Linked DNA regions of Homo sapiens: region 1 is linked to region 2. Evidence: promoter capture Hi-C in human tissues and cell types (Jung and others, 2019). All regions are on one chromosome and are shown on one strand. The core of a region is centred on a gene start or on the middle of the fragment in contact, and the rest is flanking DNA. Distances in the headings are between cores, read along the strand shown. Region 1 has its middle 51 kb from the start of SOCS1. Region 2 holds the start of TNP2 (transition protein 2).

Region 1 (6,634 bases), core at 2,242-4,741, 64 kb after region 2:
TGATCTTCTTTCTGGCCTCCAGGACTGTCTGCTGGGACCATTGCCGTAGTCTTTTGCCTGGTCCCCTACTCTCCCAGTCTTGCCCCATCTGGTCTAGCTTTTCCTCCTAGCAGCAGACTGAGCTTTCTGGAACCCAAATCTGACCACGTCCCACCTCCACTTACAGTATGTCACTGGGTCCCACTGCCCGCAGGCTGGCATCCAAGCTTGCTCTCGCCCTGGCATTCAGGATCAGCTGCCTTGGATCTACCCCCTGCCAACAGGTCCCCACCGAACCCCACAATCTGACCCAGATGAGCCATCATCCCCAACACTCCCTGTCGTGTCCCGGAAGCCTGACCTTGACCCTGGTCAGCTGTTTCCCACACCCCGAATGCACTTGCTGTCCTTCCCATCAACATGGGCTCCTCCTTCAAGGTTGGTCCGAGTGGTTGCCCCCAAGAGGGGCCTCCAGGATTCTTAGTGACAAGTGACAGAATCCAAATGTGGCTCATTCAAGCAGAAGAAAAGGTATTAAACAGATATTGGGGTATGCAAAACTCCCAGGAAGGCAGGAGGATCCCATGGAAAAGGGGAGGCAAGACGTCACCCCTATTCCTACCACAGAGCCAGCCTGGTGAAGTCCTCCTTCTTCACAGCTGCCAGGAACTCCATGTGGCCCAGGCTCCCCCCAGAAAGAGTCCTGGACAGGACAAGCCTCCAATTCAAACTCCAGAGCAGGTGCCTCTGATTGGCAGAGTCCAGTCACATGCCATGCCCTAGCTGCAAGGGAGGCAGGGAAAGTGGGTGTGGACTATTTGGGCTCCTCCCATGGAAGGCGGGCTCTACTTGCCCATTGTCCTATGTGGGAGGAGTTTCCTAACTCTGGGGTGGGAGTTCAGAGAGTTAGGGCTCATAGACTAAGGCTCTGTGCCTCCCCAAACCTCAGCATTCCCCATCTCAGGAGAGGCACAGTCGAATATCTGGTCACTCAGTCCTTGACACAGCCCTCTGCTGCACCCCAAGTCCACAGGTTCGACTTCCTGCGTGTGTCTTGCACCCATGGGCATTTCCACATCTCTGCCTCCTTCTCTGTGCAAGCTTCCGTGATGAGTCTCCCATGCAGTGGAGGAGACAGGCACTAAAATCATGAGGACAGCCCAGTGTGATACATGCTGTGATGGGGACATGCAGGGAGCCTAGAGGAGGCACCTGGTCCAGCTGCGGGCATCTGGGAAGGCTTCCTGGAGGTGACACTGCTGAGTGTTGGAGAAAAAATAGGAATTATAGAAACAAAGGTGTTAGGCCTTGTGCAGTGGCTCACAACTGTAATCCTAGCAGTCTGGGAGGCCAAGGTGGGCGGATCACAAGGTCAGGAGTTCGAGACCAACCTGGCCAACATGGCGAGACCCCATCTCTACTAAAAATACAAAAATTAGCTGAGCGTGGTGTACATGCCTGTAATCCCAGCTACTTGGGACGCTGAGGCACAAGAATTGCTTGAACCCAGGAGGCAGAGGCTGCAGTGAGCTGAGATCGTGCCACTGCACTCCAGCCTGGGTGACAGAGTGAGACTCGGTCTCAGAAAAAAAAAATAAAGAGAGAAAGAAAGGTGTTGGAGGCATCCTCTCAGGCTGAGGCAACAGCTTTGCAAAGCCACAGAGGTGCAAGGGGGAATTCCAAGGAGTTCTGGCATCACCAGGGGTAATGTGTGAGGCAGAGTTGTCAAGAGATGAGACCACTCAGGGTGGAAGGTACCCAATCACTGCTGGCTTATGAGGCCTGGCTTTGAGTGAGGGCTAGGTGCCAGGGCAGGGGAGTGGCATGGTCAGATGTGAGCTGAGAACGACCCCTAGGAGAGGCTGACCTGGGGAGCAGCCAGGGGTGTGACAGGACTGTGGGGAGCAGGAGAGGGACTTGACCTGGAAGACTCAGCTGGCTTCTGGGGGCAAGCAGAAGTTTGCCACTGCTGCTGCGGCATGTCTGGGCGAGGCAGAGAGACGTGGGCAAGTCCCTGGCCCAGTCTGGTGTCCTCAGTTTCCTTATGTGTAAAGAGAAGGGTGTGGTGATCTCCAGGCCAGGGGCTGAGAGCCATTGAGGCCACCCACTTCCTGGTCCTGTCCGCCCCACTCCCACGATGTACCAGGAGCTGGGGATGCAGTGACAAGAAGTGGAAGCCACAGCCCAGCTCTCATGGGCAGTGGGTCCGGGAGTGGACATGCAGTGATGACCTAGGTCTGGGCTGAAGAAGCTTTTCCCAGCAGTATGTAGCCCAGCACGCAGGAGAGATGCACCAGGAAAGGGATCTTAGCCGTTGACAACTGCCCTCCCATAGCAGCCCCACTGGGGCCAGGTTTCTTGGGACAATCAATGCCATCATTCCGGGAAGCCTACCCCAGGAGAGGCCCTGATTTCCCCCCATTTGCATAGCCACAGTAACAGGAAACAGGACTCACATTGCCTCATCAGTGCGGGCTGGGCCAGGCCAGGCCAGCTCAGGGCTCAGCTTGGATGTCCCAGCCTGGGCTGCCTCCTGGACAGCTGGCAGAAGCCCCATCTGGGCACTCCATCCGGTGGTGGCCAGACAGGTGGCCCGGGAGCTCCAAGGCTGTCCCCAGGCCCACCTGGATGTCCGACATGAAGGCTCCAAGCAGCTCAGCAGCATCCCCTGGGAAGGAAGGGGGGCTGTCAACAGTGACAGCTGGGTGCTCTATTGGGGTCAAAGTGCGCCGAGTTACTGCCAAGCTATCCTGGTTCCCAGAAATGATGTGTAGAACTTCCTGCCGCAAGGAGTGTGGCTATCTGCTACCTGGCCCCCCTCCATCCTCTCCCAGTTTCCCCCAGCTCCCTTCCAGAAAGCCAGGCTTTCAGCAGGAAGAGTGTTTCTCGGATGCCGTTCACTGGGTGCTGGGTGTGACCCAAGGCTCCACGTGCTGAGCTGGGTCCAGAAACCAGGAGTTTGGGGTGCAGAGAAGGGGCAAGCTTGAGTTTAGCCTCATCAGAGCCAGGTGCCCCTGGAGCCCTGGACCTCATGGGCCTCAGTCCTCCCACATCTGCCATGGGGATACTTGTGACTACCTCTCAGCGTTGACAGGAGGCACTAAAAGGGAAGGCGCTGTAGCAGTGCTGGTGACTGCGATACTAGCGCTCACGTCTGCCTTAGTCCCAGTGCTCCGGCCGCGTTGGGGCAGCTATTGAAAGAGAAGCCAGATTTCAACATTATATGAAGAGACAATGTGGTGGAAGTTTAGCCCTGTCCAAGATACCCTGTGGACACAGCCTGACCTGGGTTCGGATCTTGACTGTGCCACTTGCTGGCCGTATGACCCAGGGTGAGCTCCTCAGCTTCCCTGAAGCTCAGTTTCTGCATCTGTAGAATGGGAATGAATAGCGATGTCCATCCGTTAGGGCTATGGTAAGGAGTCGATGAGACACCACATGAAAGGGACCCGATAAAAGGGAAGGTGTGGATGACGGGGTCACGAGCCCACTGAGAGGATGTAAAGCTCAACCCTATAGCGGCTCCTGTGGCAGAGGCTGGGGTTATGGAAATAAGCCCCCGTGGCCGTGTTAAATCAACCCCCCAGAGAAGTCAGAGGCAGTGAGGAGGCAGGAAGCACTCAGTCCTAGACTAGGGATCCAGAAGACTAAGGAAGGCAAATGCCTGGCCAGTGACATCTGAGGAGGCTTCCTGGAGGAGGGGATGTCTGAGCTAGTGTCAAGGATGGACAGGTTTGGCCACCAACGTGAAAGGTCACATCCCAGGAAAGCAGCCAGCTGGGGCAAAGGCAGGGTGACCAATGTTTCTCTGCAGGCGTGGGAAGGACAAGCCACGTGGTTGAGGGATCACCCACTGCCTCCCCCACAGACCCCTGACTCCACCTCTCAGAGCCCTGAGCCTCCAGTCATGGGCACAGCCATTCTCTCTCTCACTCCAGGTCTTCAGACCCCTAGCAATGGGGATGCCCCCTTTCCTGGCATCACAGGAAAAAGTGGTGGCACATACCTGGTGGTATGGACCCTGTCCTTCTCCATGGGCCCCTGCTCTTCCTCCTCAGCATCATCGTTGCCAACATTGTAATTTGTAACTGTTTTCTGGTCATTTTTCTATGCAAATAATTTTTGAATGAACAAAATGGGGTTATGGTTTCCAAACTCTTACAACTTGCTTTTTCCTCTAAGGATACACATACCATGAGCATTTTCCCAGGGAAGCAATACTCCAAATCACCATTTTATTTTATTTATTTTATTTTGAGATGGAGTCTCATTCTGTCGCCCAGGCTGGAGTGCAGTGGTGGCTCACTGCAACCTCTGTCTCCCGGGTTCAAGCGATCCTCCTGCCTCAGCCTCCTCAGTAGCTGGGATTACAGGCATGTACCACCACGCCTGTTTTTTTTTTTTTTTGAGATGGGGTCTTGCTCTGTCGCCCAGGCTGGAGTGCAGTGGTGCAGTCTCAGCTCACTGCAAGCTCTACCTCCCGAGTTCACGCCATTCTCCTGCCTCAGCCTCCCCAGTAGCTGGGACCACAGGTGCCTGCCACCACGCTGGGCTAATTTTTTGTATTTTTAGTAGAGATGGGGTTTCACCGTGTTAGCCAGGATGGTCTCAATCTCCTGACCTTGTGGTCCGCCCACCTCAGCATCCCAAAGTTCTGGGATTACAGGCGTGAGCCACCGCGCCCGGCCTATGCCCGCCTAATTTTTGTGTGTTTAGCAGAGACAGGGTTTCACCATGTTGGCCATGCTGGTCTTGAAATCCTGACCTCAGATGATCTGCCTGCCTTAGCCTCCCAAAGTGCTGGGATTACAGGTGTGAGCCACCTCGCCTGGCCTCCAAATCACTATTTTAATGGCCCCATGGCATAGATGGACTGTCATGAATTTAACCAAGTCTGTAATCTCAGCAAACATTTCTTCAGGAGGGTAAGATGTGTGCAGCCAAGAGTACAAGGGTCCAGAGTCCTTCGGTTTGGTTTCTGACTCCACTTTTTTGTGTTTAAAGAGATGGGGGTCTCACTATGTTGCCCAGGCTGACCTCGAACTCCTGGGCTCAACTGATCCTCCTGCCTTGGCCTCTGGAGTAGGTGACTCTACTTCTTAGAGCTGTGTGACTCTGGACAAGTTACTCAACCTCTCTGTTTTTCCTTGGTTTCCTGAAAGATGAGAAACAGAGGAGCCCCTGCAGATGCCTAGTCATGAGACTCCCTTGAGCTCTTGGGTGTGTGGTGCTTAATGAAGCGCAGCGCCCTGGAGACAGACAGGAGGTGCCACGTGGATGGGGTAAGGGGTATTGTTGCTCTTTGTTGTTGCTATTTGGGCCAGGTATTGATTTTACAGTCTGGAGAGTGAAGGGCTCATGCCAAGTGGCATGAATGTTCAGAGTGACCACGACGGTTCAGTGAGACCTTGGTGCCTCTTCCCCTCCCTGGCCCCTTCCACGGAAAGCATCTGAGTCCCTTGCAGGGGGCAGGTCTCCAAATTCCCAGAAACATCTGGGGCTGGTTGGCCTCACAGGCCAATTACACCAGTGTCCCAGGAGTCTAGAAAGACGTTCTAGAAAGACACTCTCTGGGGAGAAAACCATACTGAAGTCTGCCCAAAATGCCACCATCACCCACCCCCTCCCTCTGGGTTCAGCACTGCCCTCTCCCTGGGTTCCCCTTTGCATGTTAAATTAATGCCCCAGAGAGGCTCTGCAGACGGCCCCAGTGACGGCCACCACTGGAGAGACTCCCTGGATGGATGGACAGATGGATGCAGCCCCAACTCCCCCACTCCCACGGGGCCCCAGCCAGAAGGCAAGAAAGCCCCTACCCAGCCTCTAACTGCTCAAAATCCCCAGCACCAAATTCCCCCAGCCTGGGGATCGCCAGGAGGGAGCCCTGCGTCCCCAGTGTTGGCCCCACCTCCCTTCCCCCAGGGGGCAGGTGCAGCCTAGCTCTGCTCTAGTGTCCCCTGGGCACTTCTGTTCCCAGACCAGGAGCCTCCCTCAGCCCCAAGCCTGGGCACCCCAAGGCTCTCCCAGGCTTGGGTGGCAGCATCCCTGGCTCTCCTTTGCAGGCTGCTCAGCCTCTCTGAGCCGTGATTTTCTGCAAAATAGGAATAATGGGACTATTAGATCGAATGACACATGAGATTGCCATTTTTGTGGGTCAAGATCAGACAGGCAATCAGCAATTTCTTATGGTTTCAGCAGACGGCTGCCTTCGGTAGGGAGCTGAGGACTAAATGAAGAAACAAACGAGCAGCCCTGGGCACAGAATTTGGCCCAACAAACTTTTCATTGTCATTCCTATTACTTATTGTGGTGGATGGGGCTATCCCTCTCCCACTTCAAGGATCAGCAAGCCCTGCCACTCGGACGAGGCTCCCTCTGAGGCCAGGAAGGGGCCAGGGGGCCCTTCCTGAGTCCTGCCCACAGCCCCTGACTCGCCAGGCTGGACACTCCTTGCTGAGTCTTTTAACTGTCATTTCCCCCAAAAAGCCCTTAATCACCCTCTGCCGGGCCAGGGGGAGGAACCGGGAGCTGCAGGAGCTGCAGGCTGGCCTGCAGGAAGATGACTCAGGGGAATCCTTCGATCCCCTTGGCACGATGTGGGGGAGTGATTAAGGGGGGCGTCACAGGTGTGCGCCATGTGTCCGTCACCTGGCCG
Region 2 (6,359 bases), core at 2,509-5,008:
ACAGCAAGGCTCGGTGACCTTGTTCCCAAGCCCCAGCCAGAGGTTGAGGGGCTTTGAGAGGGGGAAATCATCTCCGCCAAATCTTCCCATCTCTGGGACGGGAAATTCCTCTGCGAGTCCCAGCACACCCCAGCCGAGAGCATCCAGCGGGACAGGGTAACTGCCTTCATCGCAGTCCCCACTGTGCTGCCCCAACTATGGACCGTCTTTTAAGAACACTGGCTTGGGAGTTCAGCAGACCTGGGTTCAAACTTCTTTTCTGGTAGCTGCGTGCCCTTGAGCAAGTCACTGCGTGTCTTTGAGCCTCAGGCTGCCCCTCCCAGCGTTTAGGGGAAGCTAATAGCTACTCATGGGTCAGATGATCAGAAAAATTAGCTCAAGTGATGGGTGGGACCAGGCCTGGCACCAGTCAGTGCTGAGCTAGGACAGGGATTGTTGCTGGGGTCATGGTGGTTCCTCTAGGTCCTTCTTGGCTGCAGACTCTTCCACTGCCAGTCTATGCTGCTGGCAACCACCTGCACCCCTACCTGGAAGCTCACTCCCGCCTTCTTCAAGGGGTCTAGCCCTGGGGGCGGAGACAGTACCCCATGAGAGCAGTAGGCAAAAGAGGCCCAGGGAGGCGACTGGGTACAGACACAGAACCTAGGCCCCATCCTCTCGCTCTGGGCTCGGTGCGCCTTCCGCAAGGAGCTTCGGAGTGCGTCTGCTGCCCACCCTACTGCCGGCTCCTCCCTCACTCCTTCCATCCCAAAGAAGCCACAAATGCGATCTCCACCACATTCCCTCACAGTCCTCCAAGCACCAGCCACCTTGAGCTAATTCTCTGGATCAGCTGATCCCCTGTTCCCGAGGGGATCCTAGTTGGTACCGTGGCAGTGGGGCTGGGGGATGGGGAATTTTCAGGGAAGCCTCGGTTTCTCTGGGGGCCATGTTTGACGTAGGAAGGAGCCTTGGGCTACCCTGTGGGGAGGCCACGGCTCTGCCCGGCAATGGCCTAGGGCAAGGGAGGCCCTGTTATCCCACTACTCCCAGACCCACAAATGACTCGGTTGGTCAGCCTTGTCCTTTTGTCCAAGGCCCAAAGGTCCACCCACCCATTCATTTGCCCAGGAAACATGAGCTGAGTCCCTGTTGTATGCCCCACATGGTGCTAGTCACAAGGAGCCCTGGTAATAAAACATAGTCCCCGCTGTCCTGGGAGAGAGTTCACTGTCATGGGTGCGGGGGCAGGTACGTGACGTGCCGCACACCCGCTGCTGGGAGAGGTCAGCCCTCCCTGGGAGGACTGGAAAGGTGTGTGGAGGAGAGGCTGGTTGATGGCAGGCCACGATCTCCATTCCAGGCTATGTGCTTCAGGATGGGAAAGTGGGGCGTTGGCAGTGGAGGAGCAGGAGACCATGGGAAGGGGGGTCCAGAGACCCAGAGAGTCTTCACGGCTTGGTCTAGCATATACCCCACAACCGGACCTGCTGAGGCCACCCAAGGCAGGGCCCTGAGAACCCTGCTGCAGCTGTCCCTCTAATCGCCGAGAATCCCTTAGTGACCTCGAGAGGAGGCCAGACCTGAATATGACTGGCTCTGCCGTGATCGGCTAAGGGACTCTGGGCTGGTTACTCCACCTCTCTGAGCCTGTTCCCTCTTTGCTAAATGTAATCATAGTATCTGCCTCATGGGGTGCATAAGTTTCTTGGGGCTGCCATACCAAATGACCACAAACTTGGTGGCTAAAACAACAGAAATGTATTCTCTGCAGTTCTGGAGGCCAGAAGTCTGAAGTCGAGGTGCCAGCTGGGCTGATCTCCCTCCGGAGGCCTTAGCAGAGAATCCTTCCTTGCCTCCTCTAGCTCATACAACTCCAAGCTCGTCTCCATCTTCCCATGGTTTCCTCTTCTCCCTGGGTGACACCTCTTCTGTCTCTCATAAAGACATTTATCATTGGATTTAGGGCCCACCAGCTAAGCCAACATGCTTATCTCAAGATTCTTAGCTTAATTACATCTGCAAAGACCCCTTTTCCAAATATCACATTGACAAGTTCTAGGAGTTATAACGTGGACATAGATTTTTGGGGGTTGCCATTCATTCCACTACAAAGGGTCACTGTGAGGTTTGAGGGCAAAGCTGCCTGGAGAGGGTAAGGTCCAGAGCCCAGCCACATAGAAAGCATTCAGTAAATGAAAGCAGTTCTCACTGTAAGAAATTTGAAATGTTTATTAAGAAATAAACTGCAAAGGCTGGGCATATTGGCTCATGCCTGTAGTGCCAGCACTTTGGGAGGCCAAAGCAGGAGAAAACCTTGAGCTCATGAGTTCAAGACCCACCTAAGCAACAAAGTGAGACCCCATCTCTACAAAAATAAAAATAAAAAAATTAGACAGGTGTGGTGGCATGCACCTGTAGTCACAGCTACTTGGGAGGCTGAGGTGGGAGGATCGTTTGAGTCCAGGAGGTGGAGGCTGCAGTGAGCTGTAATTGTGCCACTGCACTCTAGCCTAGGCAACACAGCAAAACCCTTTCTCAAAAGAAAAAGAAAAAGAAAAAAACTTCCATAAAAGCAGACGATTGCAAATCCTCATAGCAAGAGGCAAAGTTGCACATGGGCAGAGTGAGAGGTTGGCTTGGGCCGGAGGCCTGCTCGGGGAGGACAGACAGAGACAGAGGAAGTTCCATGCAGAGAGAAGTGGGAAAGTACAGGGCCAAGGGCTAAGCCCAAAGGCATCGGCCAAGACAGGGAGGGGTGGAGGGCTCTGGATGGAAACCCAAAGACTAGAAGATCAAATGGCTTAGTGTTCAAACATAAGTCTGGGCTTTCTTCTAGAGGTACTGGGGTATCTGAGCAGGGACGGCGTGATTCAAACGGTATGGCGAGGCTTCGTTAGCAGGAAGGGGAGGAGAATCAAGAGGCAGAAACTGAAGGAGAGAGACGGGTTTCCAAGGGCCTCCTGTAGCTTGACAGGCATCTCAGGCTCACGAGAATACCAGGAAAGAAGGAAAGACACCCCTTTGTCACATACGGCAATTAAGCCTCAGAAACCACAATGGCCTACCCAAGACTGGACATCAGTGCAAACTGGGATTTGAACCCGGCTCTGAATTTCCCGACTTTAGATCTGGCTGGGGAGGTAGGCTTGCCAAGCGAGCCCCAGGACCACCCCTTGGTCCATGTGGTTACTCATCTTTCATCCATCCACCAAGCCATCTGACCAATTCATCACCTCCCCATCATCTGGGCACTAATCATCTGTCTTAACAACTGCCCACCATTCAGCTGCCATCACCAGGGTCAGGGCTGCACTCCTGGTACCCAAGTTGCCCAGGGCGTTAAGAAAAACACCTGATGATGCTGGTCAGTGATGTTTACTGAGCTCTTATTGTGGGCTGGGCCTGAGCTAACTGCTTGATATAAATTCTCTCCTTTATTAATAATTCTTCTAATGTCCGAATGAGGTCAGTACAATTATTATCCCTATTCTGCAGAGATGGGGAAACTGGGACTTGTTCAGGCGAATTCCCAGGGCTGACCATGTGGAAAAAGCAGATCTGGGATGCAGACTCAGCTTAATCTGACCCAAGGGCTCCTACCCTGAACCAGTAGCTGGGACTATCCCCAGGGTACCCCTGAGAGCTGCCCCAGCCTGGGGGTGAGGGTAAGGGGTAGGGGGCTTTGTCTTGGCTGAGCCACATCTCTCACACCCCTGTGGCCTGGGCCATCATAATCAGCCCCAACTATATAACCAGGTGGGCTGCCAGGGCCTCTGTAAAGCTAGGCCTGCTGGGAGAGGATGAGGAGGAGGCCCTGCCCCTCCAAACGTGGCCTCCTATGGACACCCAGACTCACAGCCTTCCTATCACCCACACTCAGCTCCATAGCAACTCTCAGCCCCAAAGCCGCACCTGCACCCGCCATTGCCAAACCTTCAGCCAGAGTTGCAGACAGAGCCATCGTGGCAGCCGGAGCCAGAGCTCCAGCCAGAGCCCGGCCAGCCACCGCAACCCAACTGGAGCCCACAGCTCATCCGGCCACCAGAGCCAGAGTCCCAACACTAGTCCACCACCAAAGCGCCACAAAAAGACTATGAACTCCCACCACTCTCCCATGCGGCCCACCATCCTGCACTGCCGCTGCCCCAAGAACAGAAAGAACTTGGAAGGCAAGCTGAAAAAGAAAAAAATGGCCAAGAGGATCCAGCAGGTGTACAAAACCAAGACGCGGAGCTCAGGTACCCTTTAAGGAGGTGGGGAAGGGCCACCGAGCCCACAGATGATGGAGAGCAGACCTTGGGGGCAGTGAGAGGAAGGCTGCAGCCAGGTCACAAAGGAACCACAGGCAAGAAGGAAGAGGGAGAAGAGAAACAATGGCAGTTGGCTAGCTGAATGTATGATACATTGACGGAAAGTCTCTTTGAAATTGGATGGGTTGATTAGGAGGATGGAAAGATGGACAGATAGCAGATAAGCTAGATGAAAGCATGAATGGAGTTGAGAGGTTGGGTGGATGACTGGGTGGGTAAACAATAAATAGGTTATAGAAAGGATAGTTGGAAGAATGCATTGGCTGAATGATAGGAAGTTTGGATACGATTAGCTGGATGGATGGATAAATGGATGAATGCACTGGCTGGCTAGTTATTTGGTTGGTTAGGTAGATGATCAGTTTGAAGATTGTGGTTGGTGGATGAATTGGTTAGAAATAGAGTTAAATAGTTGTAGAAGTTTTGATGGGTTGGTTTGATTGGTTAAATATTATCTTAATAGAGTAATATAGAGTAATTGAATAAACAGAGAGAAGAATAGATATCTAGACTAATGGGATAGAATGGGAAAGAAATGTTGAATAAATGAATGGAATGAGTGAACTAATGAATGGGTGGATGACAAATGGAAGGGATAAATGGATGGATACCTGGATTCACATAGGTCAAAAGGACACTGACGGTAGTCTAAACTCTATCTATGTCCCATATTCAATCACAAATGAGTAGTTGTAAGACCTTACAGGAGGTCAAGGAGGTCACTGACTTCATGAAGTGCTCAGCTATTAAAGGTTCCTTTCCCACTCTTATCCCTTAGGATGGAAATCCAACTAATGAGACCGCACTCCTTGGCTTGTTCCTGCGTGTTTCACCCAAAGGAGAAAATGCTAGGATGAAGTCAATCTTCTTGCAGGAACATGTTACTATGGTGATTTCTACGCAACACTAATTAAAGCTTGTACCTGGAAGACTATCCCTGAGTAGTCATAGTCATTTTGATTTCACTAATAAAGGTGTTATGTGTTTTGGGGGCCTGCACAGGGGCAGAAATGAATGGGGGTAGGATGCCAAGAAGCCTGCAGAGTCCACTCTGCTTGGATAACAATCTTTTGCCCTGTATGCTCCCACATGGGTGTGTACACATGTGGACACACAAGATGCACACATGTCCACAACCTATTCACGTGATCCACATGTATGTAGCCCAAGAACACGACAGGAGACAGGAAGAGGGGTTCAGAATGTGCCTTTTGCAATCCAGAGCATCCTGAGTTTGAATCCTGGCTCATCTTTCGTACTCGCTGTGTGACCCTGGACTGTGACCAACCTCTGAGTCTCACTTGTTGATTCTGTAACATAGTACCAACCTCAACGTTCCTCAAAGCAGCCATTTCAACAAACTTTTACTAAGGGACCAAAGTCTGTTCAGGGACTGTGCTGGGCTCTGGGAACAGAACTAGAGAACACACAAGGCCCTGCCCTCATGGAACTTACAGTCCAAACACACAAGACTTGTCAGAATGAGCTGTATCAAGGGAGCAGGGTGATGTCATGTCCCCGTGAGGGAATGAGCCTGGGTTAGAACCTGTGTTCCAGAGGAGCTGGCATAGAATCTGAAGGTGCTGGGACATGAGCTGGGGGCACCAGGTGGGGGCCAGACCATGCCGGGGTTGTACCAATCTCCGCAGGAAGGAGCTTGGACATTATTCTTGGTGTGAGAAGTCAGGGGAGGGTCTCAACTGGGTGAGTTGATAGAGTCTGGTGTGTGCTTTTTTCTCTGAGACCATCTCACTCTGTCACCCAGGCTGGCGTTTAGTGATGCAATCATGGCTCACTGTAGCCTTGATCTCCCAGGCTCAAGCCATCCTCCCGCCTCAGGTTCCCGAGTAGCATGACATGCATCACCATGCTTAGCTATTTTTGACTTCTCGCTCTGTCGCCCAGGCTGGAGGGCAGTGGCGCCATCTCAGCTCACTGCAACCTCTGCCTCCTGGGTTCAACCAATTCTCCTGCCTCAGCCTCCCAAGTAGCCGGGATTACAGGTGCCCGCCACACCTGGCTAATTTTTGTAATTTTTTTCCCCCACTGTGCAGGCAAGTTTTGTCA

Evidence for each region. The method cuts DNA at HindIII sites, captures the fragments that hold promoters and counts their contacts. A contact is called where the count stands out against the background at its distance.
Region 1: a contact is called between a fragment that was not itself captured here and the fragment with the promoter of TNP2 in region 2, in 2 of the 25 tissues and cell types used here (liver and thymus).

What each region holds. Positions count from the first base shown.
Region 1 is chr16:11,201,983-11,208,616 of GRCh38, reverse strand. No RefSeq gene overlaps it. Among named protein-coding and RNA genes, the nearest start is that of SOCS1, 51 kb to the left of the region's middle. RefSeq lists enhancers at 1,809-1,878, 1,889-1,978, 2,299-2,438, 5,252-5,331, 5,365-6,161 and 1 more. The HindIII fragment of the contact is 3,672 bases long and covers 1,656-5,327 here.
Region 2 is chr16:11,266,724-11,273,082 of GRCh38, reverse strand. It overlaps TNP2 (transition protein 2), which reads left to right and starts at 3,758. Exons shown (of 2, transcript NM_005425.5): 1 at 3,758-4,220; 2 at 5,071-5,226. The coding sequence starts at 3,821. The coding sequence ends at 5,087. The region is part of intron 1 of LOC105371082 (a long non-coding RNA gene); the gene reads right to left. RefSeq lists an enhancer at 373-1,069. The HindIII fragment of the contact is 5,287 bases long and covers 1,321-6,359 here.